6 separate regions of the Homo sapiens genome follow, and all the other regions are linked to region 4. The links are contacts of gene promoters, found by promoter capture Hi-C in blood cells and fetal thymus (Javierre and others, 2016). All regions are on one chromosome and are shown on one strand. The core of a region is centred on a gene start or on the middle of the fragment in contact, and the rest is flanking DNA. Distances in the headings are between cores, read along the strand shown.

Region 1 (2,700 bases), core at 95-2,594, 700 kb after region 4:
GATTCCTGCGTCATTGTGGGTGACGTTCTGGATCAGCAGGGTTCCATTGGGGTATATTGTCTCTCGACCGTTGTGTGCGGGCCCTGGGGCATTTTCTTGACTTATATTTTTTACATATCCTATAATTCGATAGTTGGCATGCACCCTTTCCCCTTTGTACCAGTTGTAGCCATAAAGATTCTGGGACTCATTATGGACTACTAGAAGGACCTCCTTCCCTTCTGCGACATTGAACGGCACGACATCAATATTGGTCTGGGCACTGTTTGGCAGGTTCCAGAAGGTTAAAAGCGAGGCTAGGAGGGGGAGAGAACATCAGTCAATATTGGGACCTATGTATTGGGGTGGAAAGATGGGGCCCTGGATCCTGAGCAGGTCTCTTCACCCACCCCCATCTTGAAGTAAGTGTGTGTGTGTGTGTGTGTGTCCTACTGGATCAATGTCAGCAGCATGTCCCCTATCAGCACCTCTGACCTTACATTTCCCTGTTCGGAATCCTCTTCCCCAGGGATCTGCAGGGCTCCCTCCATACTGCTGGACCTGCTTACATCAGGGCATCCTTGGGAGACCCCTTCCCTGACACCTTCTCTAGAAGCCCTGGGTGTTCCGTTTCTGACATTTCCCTGCTCTGTTCCCTTTAGAGCTCTTGTCAACACCTGGCTTCACATTCTAGATCTCTTTGCCTGTCTGTCTTCTGCCGCATGAGAGCGTGAGCTCTGTGAGGGCAGGGACTTGTGTGAACTGGATTGCACCCCAGTGCCTGGAACAGGCTGCAGGCTCCAGTAGATGAGTTCATGAGAGTTCCCAGGGCCCTCCCTCCACATCCTGGGGTTTATTTTCCAATGCCTGAGGTTGGTGGCTAGGGACAATGTTTTATGCCCTGGTTATGTTTTTATTTGAAGCGTCACATGATATAGTTATTATTATCATATTTCAAAATGTAGCAGCTAGTGATGATTAACCAGGAAAAGAGAACATGTGAGATTTTCTTGACCCTTTCCAATTCCAGTCCAATGTGATTTTCCTGTTCTGGTTTCCTGTCCCTGTCTGGTGTCCTCTCCCAAAGGACTTCAACAGAAGCCCTTTGTCCCCTCTCAGAGCCCCGTCCTCCCAAGGAGACCCCAGCCAGTCTCTCTGGCCCTCCTCCCACCCACTCCCAGGAAGTCCTCCCCTCACCTGTGAGCAGGAGCCCCTGCCAGGGAATGCACACTCTGTATGGACAGGCTGAAGGGGACCCCATGGTCTCTGCTGCCTGCTTGTCCTCTGTGGAGAAGAGCTTGGGCTCCAGGAACTCTCTTGTCAGGGCTGCTGTGACTGTCAGCTCTGCTGTCCTTCCTACCTCTGTGCTGAGCCTCCTCCCAGGGCAGGAGCACTTTCCAAGATCACATGGTCCAGGGGTGGGGTCTCTGCTCAGGAGTCCTCTGTCCCCTCCCCTCTCATTCCTGCCTCTTTTGTCCCTCTTCCTCTTTCCCTTTTGTCTATATTCAGTTCCCGATACAAAGCTTTGAGTAGCAAGGCTGATGGACCCCTGTCCCCTGGGAGGACAACCAACCTTTCCCAGTGCTGACCTATGCTGTGTTCTGGCCTTGGGTCTGTCACACCAGGGGGATTATTTCCCTTGTGACAGAGAAACCCAGCTGGGCCTTGGGTTTCTGCTGGGATGATGCCCAGCAGGAAGGTGACAGAGGTGGCTCTGGGGGATAGAAAGGGGCTCACTGGGGGATGACTGGGGAGGGACCAGCCCTCTGTCTCCAGTGACCCAGGCACAGAAACCAAGGCCCAGGGGTCTCAGGAGGAGCTACAGCTCCTGGGTGTGGAGGGAGGTGTCTGGTGTGTCCTGGGAAGAGAGCTGTGGTGGAGGGAGGTGTGTGGCTCTGAGCTCTGCTGTCCTTGGGGAAGGCTTCAAGGAAACCCTCCCTCTCCCTGTCTTTTGGATGTGCTGTGGCTCAGGTCCTTTCCATGTTCTACCTGACCTGGAAGCCTCTGTCTGGCTGACAGTCCTGTGGTCACCCCGCCTTCCCCATGGGTGGTGCCAGGAGGGAATGGGGAGCTGCACAGAAACCCCTGGCAGAGCGGGGTCTTCAAAGGCCCCAGGAAGGAAGAGGTGGGACACAGCAGGAACGCGTGAAAGACAAGAAGGGTCTGTTGGAGCAAGGAATGGAAACCAGGCTCCACCTTCACCACCTTAGCAAGGCCAAGTTCATGTCCAGGGGAATTACAGCTGACCTTCGAACACACAGATTTGAACACACAGGTCCACTTACATGTCGATGTTTTTTTGTTTGTTTGTTTGTTTGTTTGATTTTTGTTTTTTGTTTTTTGTTTGTTTGTTTTTTGCTTTTTTTTTTTTCCTGAGACAGAGTCTCACTCTGTTGCCCATGCTAGAGTGCAGTGGCACGATCTCAGCTCACTACAACCTCCACCTCCCGGGTTCAAGTGATTCTCCTGCCTCAGCCTCCCAAGTAGCTGGGACTATAGGCACCCGCCACCACGCCTGGTTAATTTTTGTATTTTTAGTAGAGGCGGGGTTTCACCATGTTGGCCAGGCTGGTCTCAGACTCCTGACTTCAAATGATCCACCCACCTCAGCCTCCCAAAGTGCTGAGATTACAAGCATGAGCTGCCATGCCCAGCCACATGCAGATGTTTTAAATTAAAAGTTGCACTGAGTGTGTCCCCTCCTCTTGCCTCCCCTCCACC
Region 2 (2,765 bases), core at 1-2,500, 640 kb after region 4:
CCAATAATAGGCTTGAATAGTTTCTGAAATATTGCAGGCCAGTAGAAGAACATCCTTTCCCTCTGCAGCACTGGACGGCAGGGCTTCAATAGTGAACTGGACAGTGGTGGGCGGGTGCCAGAAGGTTAAAAGTGAGGCTAGGAGGTGAAGACAGCATCAGTCAATACTGGGACCTATGGAGTGGGATGGAAAGATAAGGCCCTGGGTCCTCAGCAGGTCTCCTCATCCCTCAGCCTTGGAGTGTGTGTGTGTGTGTGTGTGTGTGTGTGTGTGTGTGTGTGTGTGTGTGTGTGTGTGTGTGTCCCTGGGTCAGCAGCATGACCCCCATTCCTTCAACAGCTTGGACCTTGGCATTTCCCTGGTGGAATCTTCTTCCCCAGGGGTCTGCACGGCTCCCTCCCCACTGCCCTCAGATCCTGCTCACATCAGGGTGTTTTTGGGAGACCCCTCCCCTGACACCTCCTCTAGAGACCCTGGGTCTTCCCTTTCTGACCTTTCCCAGCTCTGTTCCCTCCAGGGCTCTTGTCAGCACCTGACCTCACATTCTAGATCTCTTTAGGTGTTTGTCTTCCTCCCCATGAGAGCGTGAGCTCTGTGAGGGCGGGGACTTGTGTGATCTTGGTTGCACCCCAGTGCCTGGCACAGGCTGCAGACTCCTGTAGATGAGTTCATGAGCATTCTCAGGGCCTCCAAGTCCTGAGGTTTATTTCCCAGTGTCTGAGGTTGTTGGCTAAGAGCAGTGTTTTATGCCCTGGTTATGTTTTTATTTGAAGTGTCATCTGGTATAGTTATTATCATTTTTCAAAATGTAGTGGCCAGTGATGATTAACCAGGACGAGAGAACACTTGAGATTTTCCTGCCTTTTACCAATTCCAGTTCACTGAGATTTTCCTGTTGTGACCCCTGCCCCTCTCTGATGTTCTCTCCCTTATCCAGCCTCCAACAGAGGCCCTCAGTCCCCTCTCAGAGCCCCAGGAGACCCCAGCCAGAAGCCCTCTATCCCCTCCTACCCAAGAGACCCCAGTCAGTCTCTGTGCTCCCTCTTCCCACCACTCCCAGAGAGTCCTCCCCTCACCTGTGATCAGGAGCCCCTGCCAGGGCCTGTGCCCTCCACGGGGAGCGGCTGAGGGGGGGCCCATGGTCTCTGCTGCCTGCTTGTCCTCTGTGGAGAGGAGCTGGGCTCCAGGAACGCTCTTGTCAGAGCTGCTGTGACTGTCGGCTGTCGGGGCTGCTGACCTTCCTCCTTCTGTGCTGAGCCTCCTCCCGGGCAGAAGCACTTCCCAGGGCCAGGGGCAGAGGCGGGGCTCTTCCCAGGTCACCCCTCTGCCCCTCCCCTCTCATTTCTGCCTTTTTTGTCCCTCCTTCCCCTTTCTCTTCTGTGTACATTACAGTTTCCTAACCACACTTTGAGAAGCAGGGTTGGTGGAGTCCCCTGTCCCCAGAGAGGGTGACTTGTCACCCCTGCACTGACCCTTTGGGAATGTCACCACAAACAGAGGTACTCTGGGGTCTCCCAAACTTGGGGAACTGTTTCCTTTTGTGACACAGAGACCCAGCTGGGCCCCCAGGTCTCCTCATGCTCCCCAATACTCAGGGAGTGTGAGATGATACCCAGCAGGAAGGTGACAGAGGTGGCTCTGTGGGATAGAAAATGGGGGGCGACTACGGGGGGGACCAGTCCTCTCTCTCCAGTGTCACCAGCCTTGCCTCTGACCCAGGGACAGAGATCCAGGCCTGGGGGTCTCAGGAGGATCCCCAGCTCCTGGATGTGGAGGGAGGTGTCCTGCATGTCCTGGGAAGAGAGGACTGTGGTGGAGGGAGGTGGGTGGCTCTGGGTTCTGCTGTCCTTGAGGAGGGATTCAGGGAGATCCTCCCTCTCCGTTTCTGTTGGCTGAGCTGTGGCTTAGGGCCTGTGCATGTTCTCCCTTACCATCCCGGGTGGCCTCTGTCCTCTGTGAAGGTGATTGTCCTGTTGTCACTGTACCTTCCCCATGCATGATACCAGGAGAAAGTGGAGAACTGAGCAGAGAATCCTGGCAGAGCAGGATCCTCAGAGGCTCCAGGAAGGATCAGGAGAGACAGAGCAGGCACATGGGAGGGACTGGAAGGGCCTGCTGGAGCAAAGTATGGAAACCAGGCTTCACCTCCACCTCCTTAGCAAAGCCAGATTCCTGTCCAGGGGAATCCATTTCCTGTGTTGTCTGCGTGCAATGTTGCCCCTGGAGAGCAAGAGGAACCCTGTGGTAAAAGTCAGGGGCTTCCCCAGGGATGCTGACCAGGGTCCACGTGGTATGAGTTGGCCCTGGCCCCTGGGCAGAGGTGGGCTCTGACCTCCAGACTGCAGGGTCAGGTCATCCTTGGTCCTGTTCACTGTGGGTCCCCAGGATGTCCAACTCCATGCAGTGCAGGATGAGCTCAGGGAGAGGACGAGAGTTGTCCAGAGCACTCCTGGTCCTGATTTGGGAGAACTGTCCTGCAGGCGGATGGGCTGCCTCAGAAAGAGCCATCCGTCCCCAAGGTTTCAAAAGAAGGGCCCAGGGAGGTGTCTCTGGGGGTTTAGAGAGAGGGCACTGGCCTGGGAGGTGGTCCTCGGTGTGTTCTGTGTTCCTCCATCACAACACTGGGAGTTCCGCCTCCAGGTCATCTGTGTCCCTGTCTGTCACCTGCCCCAGGCCTCTCCACAGGGCCCAGGAGCTGGGGCAGCTCCTACCTGCAGGCTGCAAGGGATACCTGGTTCCTGTATTAGAGCAGGGGAGGCCCCGTG
Region 3 (2,700 bases), core at 201-2,700, 720 kb after region 4:
CCTATGCTGTCACCTCACAGCCCTGTCATTACCATTAACTCCTCAGTCCCATGAAGTTCACTGAGCGCCTGTCTCCCGGTTACAGGAAAACTCTGTGACAGGGACCACGTCTGTCCTGCTCTCTGTGGAATCCCAGGGCCCAGCCCAGTGCCTGACACGGAACAGATGCTCCATAAATACTGGTTAAATGTGTGGGAGATCTCTAAAAAGAAGCATATCACCTCCGTGTGGCCCCCAGCAGTCAGAGTCTGTTCCATGTGGACACAGGGGCACTGGCACCAGCATGGGAGGAGGCCAGCAAGTGCCCGCGGCTGCCCCAGGAATGAGGCCTCAACCCCCAGAGCTTCAGAAGGGAGGACAGAGGCCTGCAGGGAATAGATCCTCCGGCCTGACCCTGCAGCCTAATCCAGAGTTCAGGGTCAGCTCACACCACGTCGACCCTGGTCAGCATCCCTAGGGCAGTTCCAGACAAGGCCGGAGGTCTCCTCTTGCCCTCCAGGGGGTGACATTGCACACAGACATCACTCAGGAAACGGATTCCCCTGGACAGGAACCTGGCTTTGCTAAGGAAGTGGAGGTGGAGCCTGGTTTCCATCCCTTGCTCCAACAGACCCTTCTGATCTCTCCCACATACCTGCTCTGTTCCTTTCTGGGTCCTATGAGGACCCTGTTCTGCCAGGGGTCCCTGTGCAACTCCAGACTCCCTCCTGGTACCACCATGGGGAAGGTGGGGTGATCACAGGACAGTCAGCCTCGCAGAGGACAGAGACCACCCAGGACTGTCAGGGAGAACATGGACAGGCCCTGAGCCGCAGCTCAGCCAACAGACACGGAGAGGGAGGGTCCCCCTGGAGCCTTCCCCAAGGACAGCAGAGCCCAGAGTCACCCACCTCCCTCCACCACAGTCCTCTCTTTCCAGGACACACAAGACACCTCCCCCTCCACATGCAGGATCTGGGGACTCCTGAGACCTCTGGGCCTGGGTCTCCATCCCTGGGTCAGTGGCGGGGTTGGTGGTACTGGAGACAGAGGGCTGGTCCCTCCCCAGCCACCACCCAGTGAGCCTTTTTCTAGCCCCCAGAGCCACCTCTGTCACCTTCCTGTTGGGCATCATCCCACCTTCCCAGAGCCCTGGAGAGCATGGGGAGACCCGGGACCCTGCTGGGTTTCTCTGTCACAAAGGAAAATAATCCCCCTGGTGTGACAGACCCAAGGACAGAACACAGCAGAGGTCAGCACTGGGGAAGACAGGTTGTCCTCCCAGGGGATGGGGGTCCATCCACCTTGCCGAAAAGATTTGTCTGAGGAACTGAAAATAGAAGGGAAAAAAGAGGAGGGACAAAAGAGGCAGAAATGAGAGGGGAGGGGACAGAGGACACCTGAATAAAGACCACACCCATGACCCACGTGATGCTGAGAAGTACTCCTGCCCTAGGAAGAGACTCAGGGCAGAGGGAGGAAGGACAGCAGACCAGACAGTCACAGCAGCCTTGACAAAACGTTCCTGGAACTCAAGCTCTTCTCCACAGAGGAGGACAGAGCAGACAGCAGAGACCATGGAGTCTCCCTCGGCCCCTCCCCACAGATGGTGCATCCCCTGGCAGAGGCTCCTGCTCACAGGTGAAGGGAGGACAACCTGGGAGAGGGTGGGAGGAGGGAGCTGGGGTCTCCTGGGTAGGACAGGGCTGTGAGACGGACAGAGGGCTCCTGTTGGAGCCTGAATAGGGAAGAGGACATCAGAGAGGGACAGGAGTCACACCAGAAAAATCAAATTGAACTGGAATTGGAAAGGGGCAGGAAAACCTCAAGAGTTCTATTTTCCTAGTTAATTGTCACTGGCCACTACGTTTTTAAAAATCATAATAACTGCATCAGATGACACTTTAAATAAAAACATAACCAGGGCATGAAACACTGTCCTCATCCGCCTACCGCGGACATTGGAAAATAAGCCCCAGGCTGTGGAGGGCCCTGGGAACCCTCATGAACTCATCCACAGGAATCTGCAGCCTGTCCCAGGCACTGGGGTGCAACCAAGATCACACAAATCCCTGCCCTCATGAAGCTCATGCTCTCATGGGGAGGAAGACAGACATACAAAGAGATCTAGAATGTGAGGTCAGGTGTTGACAAGAGCCCTGGAGGGAATAGAGCAGGGAAAGGTCAGAAAAGGAAGACCCAGGGTCTCTAGAGGAGGTGTCAGGGAAGGGATCTCCCAAGAATGCCCTGATGTGAGCAGGACCTGAAGGCAATGGGGAGGGAGCCGTGAAGACCCCTGGAAAAGCAGATTCCACACAGGGAAATGCCAAGGTCAGAGGTGCTAAGGAAATAGGAGACACACTGCTGACCTTGACCTAGTAGGACACACACACACACACACACACACACACACTCACTCACTCCAGGGCTGGGGGATGAAGAGACCTGCTCAGGACCCAGGACCCCATTTTTCCACCCTAATGCATAGGTCCCAATATTGACCGATGCTCTCTGCTCTCTCCTAGCCTCACTTCTAACCTTCTGGAACCCGCCCACCACTGCCAAGCTCACTATTGAATCCACGCCGTTCAATGTCGCAGAGGGGAAGGAGGTGCTTCTACTTGTCCACAATCTGCCCCAGCATCTTTTTGGCTACAGCTGGTACAAAGGTGAAAGAGTGGATGGCAACCGTCAAATTATAGGATATGTAATAGGAACTCA
Region 4 (2,731 bases), core at 176-2,675:
CAATCAAACTGGACTCAGTTTGCACACACCTGGAGCTCAAGAGTCTCCAGGGGGAAAACAGAGACACAAAGTCAGACAGAGAGAGAGCCAGAGAAATTTCCTGCACCGTGAAGATAGTCAGAGGCAGGGAAGAAACTCCTTAGCACTAGTTAGAGTGATCAGAAACCAAGAGGACCTGATCGCTGTACCTGCCAGGTCTCAGTTTCTGTCTCCTTCCAACTGACCACCTCTTCCTCTGAGACTCACCAGTTCTGCATCTCTTGCTCCTCCTTCTGTTTCTCCGACCACTTCCACCTGTGGCTGTCACAGAAGGGCGGATGAAGGAGGGGACACTGGAGATAGACTCAGCATCTGCAGGCTTCCAAAGAGAGGGGCTAGGAGATCCACCAACACACCAGCACAAATACACCAGCACACACAGATACACACAATTGGTTCATGTATTGCTAGGTTACAGTTTGCTATGCTACAAAGGCAGTAGGCCAAATTTGATTGAATTGAATAATTCCTTATTTTCATCAGCTTCTCCTTTTTTTTTTTTTTTTTTTTTTTTTGAGATGGAGTATTGCTGTGTCACCCAGGCTGGAGTGCAGTGGTGTAATCTTGGCTCACTGCAGCCTCCACCTCCCAGGTTCAAGTGATTCTCTTGCCTCAGCCTCCCGAGTAGCTGGGATTAAAAGTACCCACCATCACGCCCGGTTAATTTTTGTGTTTTTAGTACAGATGGGGTTTTGCCATGTGGGCCAGGATGGTCTCGAACTCTTGACCTCAATTGATCTGCCCCCCTCAGCTTCCCAACGTGCTGGGATTACAGGTGTGAGCCACCGCACCCAGCCAGCCTCTCAGTTTTGAACATGCACTACCACCACCTCCACAACACACAAATGTAAATGCACTTTCGTATATAAAACTGTATAAATACAAGGAAGCTCATACACATGCAAGGATACACACATAAGCACCCCCAGATTCAACCACAGAAATATACGCCAGTACATTTGCATAAATTCAAACACCCCTTTACATGTAAAAATCATATAAGCACATACAGGGATGCAAGCAGGCATGGACAAATGCATGCAAGCACAGACAAACAGACAAAGCTAAGTAAAAAAGTGCAAGCTCACCTATGCTTACAAAAATAGACATACATATACCCACAAACCCACACACCCACACATTCACTTGCTCACCTGGACTTTGATATCTCTACCACTGTATCCCTGCCAATATCTACAGAGTGGGTAAAGGGATAGGCATCAGGTCACTGGGTTGCCCAAGCAGGAAGTCTGGGTTCCCTAACAACTTTTTCTAAGCTAATGCTCCTGGATGATGATGAAAAAGGAGGTGGGGAATGGATGAAATTTTATAACAGGGTGCAGAGGCAGGGTCAGGATAAAAGGCCCAGTTGGAGGCTGCAGCAGGGTGCAGGGCAGTCAGACCAGGACCATGGAACTCAGCGTCCTCCTCTTCCTTGCACTCCTCACAGGACTCTTGCTACTCCTGGTTCAGCGCCACCCTAACACCCATGACCGCCTCCCACCAGGGCCCCGCCCTCTGCCCCTTTTGGGAAACCTTCTGCAGATGGATAGAAGAGGCCTACTCAAATCCTTTCTGAGGGTAAGACACAGACGAATGGGGTCTGAGGGTGAGCTGCTTCTTGCCTTGGTACTTGGGGAAGCTTCACCAAACAGAATGAGGCAGACTTCCAGAGTCAGGGGTGGCACGGGCATGGTTGGTGAGTACGGAGCATGGTGAAGCATGATGGGTGGTATTATTAGGAGAAAAGCATCAAATTAAATTTAGCAGAGTTTATTTGAGCAAAGAAGTGACTCATGAGTTGGACAGCTCCCTAAACCAGGAAAGACACCACACGGCAGTATGGTCAAGTGGTATTTACAGGCAGAAAAAGGAGGTGACATACAGAAACAGCCTGATTGGCCACAGATCACAGCTTGCCTTACTTGGTCACAATCTGAGCAGTTTGCAGCCTGTGTGGACTGAAAGCCCAGCTGCTCTGATTAGCCAACACTTGGCTACTTGTCACAAGAATATATTCATTTGGGCCAGGTGCAGTGGCTCATGCCTGTAATCCCAGTGCTTTTGGAGGCCGAGGTGGTGGATCACCTGAGGTCAGGAGTTCGAGACCAGCCTGGCCAACATGGTGAAACCTTGTCTCTACTAAAAATACAAATATTAGCTGGGCATAGTGATGCGTGCCTGTAATCTCAGCTACCCAGGAGGCTGAGGAAGGAGAATCACTTGAATCCAGGAGGCAGAGGTTGCAGTGAGCCAAAATCTTACCACTGCACTCCATCCTGGGTGACAGAGTGAGACTCCTTCTCAAAAAAAAAAAAAAAAAAAAGAATATACTCCCAAGTTAGGTTGCAGTTCACTCTACAGAGAGAGCTTTAGGTCAAATTTAATTTAATTAAACAATTCTCCCCTTTTGGTCAGCCTCAAAATTTTGAGATTGACCAAAACCTTGGGCATCAACATTACTTCTGTCACCATCATAATGGACTTGTCTGCTCTCAGTATGGAATTCACAATGGACAATGTCAACGTAGTTGAGTGATTCTTTACCTTTTCTTCATGTTTTTGTTGTTCCCACTGTAATGAGCCCACTGGATGTACAAAGAATGGCTGCATATGAGCATTTAAGACTCTTTTTTTTTCTGAGACAGGGCCTCACTCTGTCAGCCAGGCTGAAGTGCTGTGGCATGATCAC
Region 5 (2,832 bases), core at 266-2,765, 600 kb before region 4:
TCAGGGACACAGCGATGATTAAGTCAGCCCCAGCCTTGCCCTCAGGGTGCCCCTGGTTCAGAAGCATCCAGACAGTATCAAACTCAAAAGCAGACAGAGGACTGGGCATGGTGGCTCACACTTGTAATTCCAGCACTTTGTTGAGGCCAAGGTGGGCAGATTGCTTGAACTCAGGACTTTGAGACCAGCCTGGGCAACATGATGAAATCCTGTTTCTACCAAAAAACACAAAAATTGGCTGGGCGTGGTGGCTCACGCCTGTAATCCCAGCACTTTGGGAGGCTGAGGCAGGTGGATCACAAGGTCAGGAGTTTGAGACCAGCCTGGCCAACATGGCGAAACTCCATCTCTACTAAAAATACAAAAATTAGCCGGGCATGGGTGGCGGGCACCTGTATTCCCAGCTACTCAGGAGGCTGAGGCAGGAGAATCGCTTGAACCCGGGAGGCGGAGGCAGTGAACCAAGATCATGCCATCATCACCCCGTCTCTGATAAGTACAAAAAAAAAATTAGCTGGGCGTGGTGGCGCATCCCTGTAATCCCAGCAACTCGGGAGGCTGAGGCAGGATAATCACTTGAACCCAGGAGGCGGAGTTGCAGTGAGCTGAGATTGTGCCACTGCACTCAAGCCTGGGTAACAGAATGAAACTCCGTCTCAAAAATAATAATAATAATAATTTTAAAAAATTAAAAAAAAAATCTAGGGCTGGAAGAAGCTGGGAAAAAGACAAGGAACTAGGGACGCAGCCACCCTAGACGACCCCTACTCACCTTGACCCTGAAGGGGCAGCGGGTCTGGTCCACCAGCATGATGTTCTCAGGCTTGAGATCAGCGTGGATGATAGCCAGCTCCTTGAGCCGGGCCAGGGCTGTGAGCACCTGCAGGGTGACTGTACGGATGTGGCGGGCGGGGAGGGGCGCGAAGTTGTTCTCCTTCTGGAACTCGAAAAGGTTTTGCTCCAGCAGCTCAAAGACCAGGTAGAACTTGAGGGCGTCATGGAAGAACTCAAGGAAGCGGATGACGTGGGCCTCTTCAGGGTCTAGGCCTCGCATGCAGTGCAGCAGCTTCAGCTCGTTCTTGATGATGCGGTTGCGGTAGGCGTCATTCTTGAGGATCTTGATGGCCACCATCTCGCCCGTGCTCCGCCGCCAGCCCTTGGCTACCTCCCCGAAGGTCCCCTTGCCCAAGACCTCGATGATGTCGTAGCAGTCAGTCTCCGACTGGATGGTGGACATGGTGCCGCTGCTGCCAGACACCGCCCTGCCCAGGCCCCTGTACCACTGGCTCTGCCGCCCAGGCCTCCCGCCTGGCTGCTGACACAGCAGGCCCCCCAGTGGGGGAAAGAGAACCGCACTCGTGTCTCCTCCTATGAGGTTGGCCCCTGCTTCCCTGGCACCCCCAAACCCCCAGGCCACACTGTCAGTCTGCCAGGGGCTGCACCCCTCCCCAGAAACCCTCCTGGCTTGGGATGAGGGGCCCCAGGCCCCACCGAATGGGTTCCAGCGCTGTTGAGTGGCTCTGGTTCTGTTGTTGGAGACCTGAGCCCTGGCTGGAGTGGGGGTGGGGTACCAGGCTGGGCCCCCTCCCCCGCCCAGTGGCGGAATCTTGCAAAGACCAAACAGGTGAAGTGTTGACAGAGGGGGGTCTAATCGTGGGCCTTGGGCATACAGGAATGGGGATAAGGCAGGAGTGAGGAAAGGTGGGCTTCTTGAGCTTGGGAGATGTGATGTGTGTGTGTCTGTGTTCAGAAAACTCCTGTCCCAGTCTGTGGCTACTGTGGGGTGAGGTTGTAAAAGGCCCTGAATGCCAGGCTAAGGAGTTTGGATTCTGTTCTGAGGGCACTGGGGAGCCACAGAAGGGCTTTGAGCAGGGGAGGGCAGGGTCAGATATGAGTGTCAGAAAGTTACTGTATGAAAAGGGATAGGTTGGAGCGGGTAAGAGTGGAAGCCCCAAGCCAGGGAAAGAGTCCAGGACAGGGCACAGATGGGAGAGGTTGGGGAGGAGAGGGCGAGGCCAATGGATGAGACACTCAAAAGGCCAGGAGAAGCAGCCGTGAGACCGACGGTTTGAGGGAAAGGCGGGAGCTGTCTAAGAACGGGCCTAGGGCTCTGGGATGAAGGGGCAGTCCCCGAGAAATGGACATGGATAAGAAGCAGCTTGGGGGAGATGTTGAGGCCAAATTAGAAAATGTATTTATTTTTGGCTGGGTGCGGTGGGTCACGCCTGTAATCCCAGCACTTTGGGAGGCCAAGGAAGGCAGATCATAAGGTCAGGAGATCGAGACCATCCTGGCTAACACGGTGAAACTCTGTCTCTACTAAAAATACTAAAAATTAGCCAGGCATAGTGGAGGGCGCCTGTAGTCCCAGCTACTCGGGAGGCTAAGGCAGAAGAATAGCTTGAACCCGGGAGGTGGAGGTTGCAGTGAGCCGAGATTGCACCACTGCACTCCAGCCTGGGTGACAGAGCGAGACTCCATCTCAAAAAAAAAAAAAAAGTGTTCATTTTTATTTATCTTTTTAATTTTTTGTAGAAATGGGGTCTCACTATGTTGTCCAGGCTGGTCTCAAGTGATCCTCCTGGCCTCAAGTGATCCTCCTGCCTCAACCTTCCAAAGTGCTGGGATTGTAGACATGAGCCACCACTCCAGCCAGATTAGAATATTTAACAGCGGGCCGGGCTCGGTGGCTCATGCCTGTAATCCCAGCACTTTGGGAGGCTGAGGCAGGTGGATCACCTGAGGTCGGGAGTTCGAGACCAGCCTGACCAACATGGAGAAACCCCGTCTCTACTAAAAATACAAAATTAGCCGGGTGTGTTAGCACATGCC
Region 6 (2,702 bases), core at 135-2,634, 770 kb before region 4:
GGGCGGGGTGGATGAATGGATGAGTGGGCGTGTAGGGAGTAGGTGGGTGGCGCAGCCCTACCTAGAAGCAGCTCCGCGGGAGGAGGGCTCTGCTATTCTGCCCTGATCTTCCTGCCTGTTCCCTCCGCTGCAGCCCCTTTCCCCGCCCTGGGCCCAGCCCTCACCTCTGCCCCGCCCCGCCACTCACCTGTGGGTTCCCGGCTGCGGGCCTCCTGCAGGTAGCGCAGCGCGCGTGCGTAGTCGCCCAGGTGGTAGAAGGCAATGCCGGCACGGTAGGTGGCCTTGAAGTTGCCCTGCTGCTTCTCCAGTACCTTGAGACAGTACTCGCGCACGCGCTCGTAGTTTACCAGCTCCGACTGCAGCAGGCAAGCTGCGAGGGCCCCGCGGCCGGCACTCTCAGAGCCTGCTGGCACCCCCAGAACCCACCTGACTGCGAGGAGCCGAGGCTCCAGGCGGCAGGGAACCAGGCCTAAGGGATTGCTCCGGCAACCAGGGGCGCCAATCCGCTCGCCTATCGAAACAGGCGCAACTGCGCCGCTGCTAGGGGGCGCCAAAACACGGACAGGCGCCACTGGGCGATCCACCCAGAGCTGTCGGTGGGCAAGAGCACTAAGGCCCCGCGCGGGGGCGAGGGCCGGGACCTCGAGAGCCTGGCTCAGGGCAGACTTCCTCACCTTGGGTCCACGTGCGGCCAGGGGGTGGAAAGAATGACTCAGGGGAAGCGAGGCCCTGAATACCCGACCCAAAGACCATTTCCTGCATCCCAGCTCCCTCCAGCCACAGACCCCTGTCATCCCCTACCCCTAATCCCTTTCCTTGATCAAGCTCTGAAGGCTCCCCCAGAAGCCCACAGCCCTGGACCCTTCAGCCCCAGGGCCCCTGGCCCCCAAGTCGCCAAGCTCTCCCGATTGCCCCCTCCCCTCGTGCCCCATCCCCCCACCCCCCGACGGCGTACCCGTGAGGGAGTCGTAACACTCCACCTCCGTGCTCTCCACCAGGCGCCGCTGCTCCTCGCTGAGGCGCGCCGGCCCGGGGCTGCTGGTGGGCCCGGGGGCGGGGGCGGGCAGGCCGCTAGGGCGGGCCCCCTGCGCCGCCTTCAGCTGCAGCAGCGCTCGGTGGTACTTGCCGATGGCCTCCCGGAACTTCTTCTCTCGATAGCAGCGCTGGCCCTCTGCCTTGAACGCCACGGCGGCACGCAGGCTGCTGTCGAGCGCCGCGCCCAGGCTCCCCGACGGCTCTGGGGTAGGACCGGGACGAGCCGAGCCATGGCGGGAGCCCGAGCCTGGGCCCGAGCCCGGTGGGGAGAGGGCGGGAGGCGGGCGCGGCGGAGGCTCCGGGGCAGCGCTGAGCATCAGCACCGGGGACAGCGCGCCGCGCTGCATTGTGGGAAACTCCTGCCGCCGCCGCTGCAGCTACCGCATCGCCCCCCGCGGGGCTGGTCCCCACCCTTTCTCCGCCCCCTCACCTCCGGCAGCCGACTCCGGCTGCCCCCTATGGGTCTAGGGAAACCCCTCGAGACTTCCCCCATGCTCACTCTCAAATTAACCAAGTCCTAGTTCTCCAGCCCGCCCCCCGAATTGTTCCCATTCCCCTTACCCTCCCCAACCTCCTGCCTGCTCTCCTCCCCGGTGCCCAAAGCTCCCGAAGATTTCTAGAAGGAAAGGACGAGCCTGGGGGAAAGAGCAGGAAGACATCAGCCTCACGGAAAGCTGGCTCTCAGCCCACTGGCCATTTGGCATATCGAATGAGAACACAGGATTTGGACCCAAGCTTCCCAAATTCAAATCCCTGCTTACTTTCTCACTAGTGGTATGACTTAGACAGCTCGCTTAAACTACCTGGAACTCTGTATCCTCATCAGTAACATGGCACAATAATATCACCTTTAGGGCCAGTCGAGGTGGCTCACGCCTGTAATCCCAGCACTTTGGGAGGTCGAGGTGGATGGATCGCTTGAGGTCAGAAGTTTGAGACCAGCCTGGCCAATATGGCAAAACTCCGTCTCTACTAATATACAATATATACAAAATTTTTGTATATATACACAAAAATTAGCCTGGTGTGGTGGCGTGCACCTGTAGTCCCAGCTACTCGGGAGACTGAGGCAGGAGAATCACTTGAACCTGGGAGGCAGAGGTTGCAGTGAGCCGAGATTGTGCCACTGCACTCCAGCCTGGGTGACAGAGGGAGATGCCGTCTCAAAAAAGGAAAGGAAAGGAAAGGAAAGGAAAGGAAAGGAAAGGAAAGGAAAGGAAAGGAAAGGAAAGGAAAGGGGAAAGGGGAAAGAGGAAAGAGAAAAAAGGAAAGGAAAGGAATTAAAAATAATACCACCTTTGGGATTCATCTGTTAATTTATGAAACAAATATTCACTGACATCCTTTCTGTGCCCAGCTCTGTGCTGGATGATGCTGGGACATAGCAGACACTGCGTGAGCTTCAGACCCTACTCTCACTGGGCCCCAGTTCAGTGGGAAGACAGACCAGTGACCAGACAGTGACAGCCCTGAGCAGGCTAGCCTGGGAAGCACAGGCAGAGGGGTCGGGGCCGAGGTGGAAGAGGCACAGGCAGAGGGGTCGGGGCTGGGATGTGGGAGGTACCTGCCCTGGGCTGAGGTGGTGATAAAGTCTTCCTGGAGGAGGGAATAACTCTAAAAACAAGAGAGATCTCCTTCTTGCCCTCATCCAGCTCGGCTGTCTATGG

Evidence for each region. Contacts are between HindIII fragments. The CHiCAGO score rates a contact against its expected background, and 5 or more counts as called.
Region 1: a contact is called between the fragment with the promoter of CEACAM7 here and the fragment with the promoter of CYP2B6 in region 4, in 8 of 17 cell types (total B cells, neutrophils, activated CD4 T cells and 5 more). The highest score is 12.1, in total B cells.
Region 2: the fragment with the promoter of CEACAM4 here is called in contact with the fragment with the promoter of CYP2B6 in region 4 in 5 of 17 cell types (total B cells, naive B cells, activated CD4 T cells and 2 more); the score reaches 12.1 in total B cells.
Region 3: a contact is called between the fragment with the promoter of CEACAM5 here and the fragment with the promoter of CYP2B6 in region 4, in 13 of 17 cell types (activated CD4 T cells, naive CD8 T cells, monocytes and 10 more). The highest score is 12.6, in activated CD4 T cells.
Region 5: the fragment with the promoter of HIPK4 here is called in contact with the fragment with the promoter of CYP2B6 in region 4 in 6 of 17 cell types (naive B cells, neutrophils, total CD4 T cells and 3 more); the score reaches 9.0 in naive B cells.
Region 6: a contact is called between the fragment with the promoter of TTC9B here and the fragment with the promoter of CYP2B6 in region 4, in 5 of 17 cell types (erythroblasts, total B cells, naive B cells and 2 more). The highest score is 7.3, in erythroblasts.

What each region holds. Positions count from the first base shown.
Region 1 is chr19:41,686,926-41,689,625 of GRCh38, forward strand. It overlaps CEACAM7 (CEA cell adhesion molecule 7), which reads right to left and starts at 1,345. Exons shown (of 5, transcript NM_001291485.2): 1 at 1,177-1,345; 2 at 1-296. The coding sequence starts at 1,240. The HindIII fragment of the contact is 5,666 bases long and covers 1-1,500 here.
Region 2 is chr19:41,625,824-41,628,588 of GRCh38, forward strand. It overlaps CEACAM4 (CEA cell adhesion molecule 4), which reads right to left and starts at 1,251. Exons shown (of 7, transcript NM_001817.4): 1 at 1,077-1,251; 2 at 1-137. The coding sequence starts at 1,140. The HindIII fragment of the contact is 7,709 bases long and covers 1-2,765 here.
Region 3 is chr19:41,707,176-41,709,875 of GRCh38, forward strand. It overlaps CEACAM5 (CEA cell adhesion molecule 5), which reads left to right and starts at 1,451. Exons shown (of 10, transcript NM_004363.6): 1 at 1,451-1,620; 2 at 2,505-2,700. The coding sequence starts at 1,557. The HindIII fragment of the contact is 18,236 bases long and covers 1-2,700 here.
Region 4 is chr19:40,989,857-40,992,587 of GRCh38, forward strand. It overlaps CYP2B6 (cytochrome P450 family 2 subfamily B member 6), which reads left to right and starts at 1,426. Exons shown (of 9, transcript NM_000767.5): 1 at 1,426-1,620. The coding sequence starts at 1,450. RefSeq lists promoters at 1-1,465, 1-1,431 and a cis regulatory region at 1,168-1,191. The HindIII fragment of the contact is 6,148 bases long and covers 1-1,679 here.
Region 5 is chr19:40,388,666-40,391,497 of GRCh38, forward strand. HIPK4 (homeodomain interacting protein kinase 4) reads right to left here and starts at 1,516. Exons shown (of 4, transcript NM_144685.5): 1 at 773-1,516. The coding sequence starts at 1,237. RefSeq lists enhancers at 869-1,418, 1,419-1,968. The HindIII fragment of the contact is 16,517 bases long and covers 1-2,832 here.
Region 6 is chr19:40,217,000-40,219,701 of GRCh38, forward strand. TTC9B (tetratricopeptide repeat domain 9B) reads right to left here and starts at 1,385. Exons shown (of 3, transcript NM_152479.6): 1 at 956-1,385; 2 at 188-370. The coding sequence starts at 1,382. RefSeq lists enhancers at 253-843, 2,422-2,702. The HindIII fragment of the contact is 9,686 bases long and covers 1-1,768 here.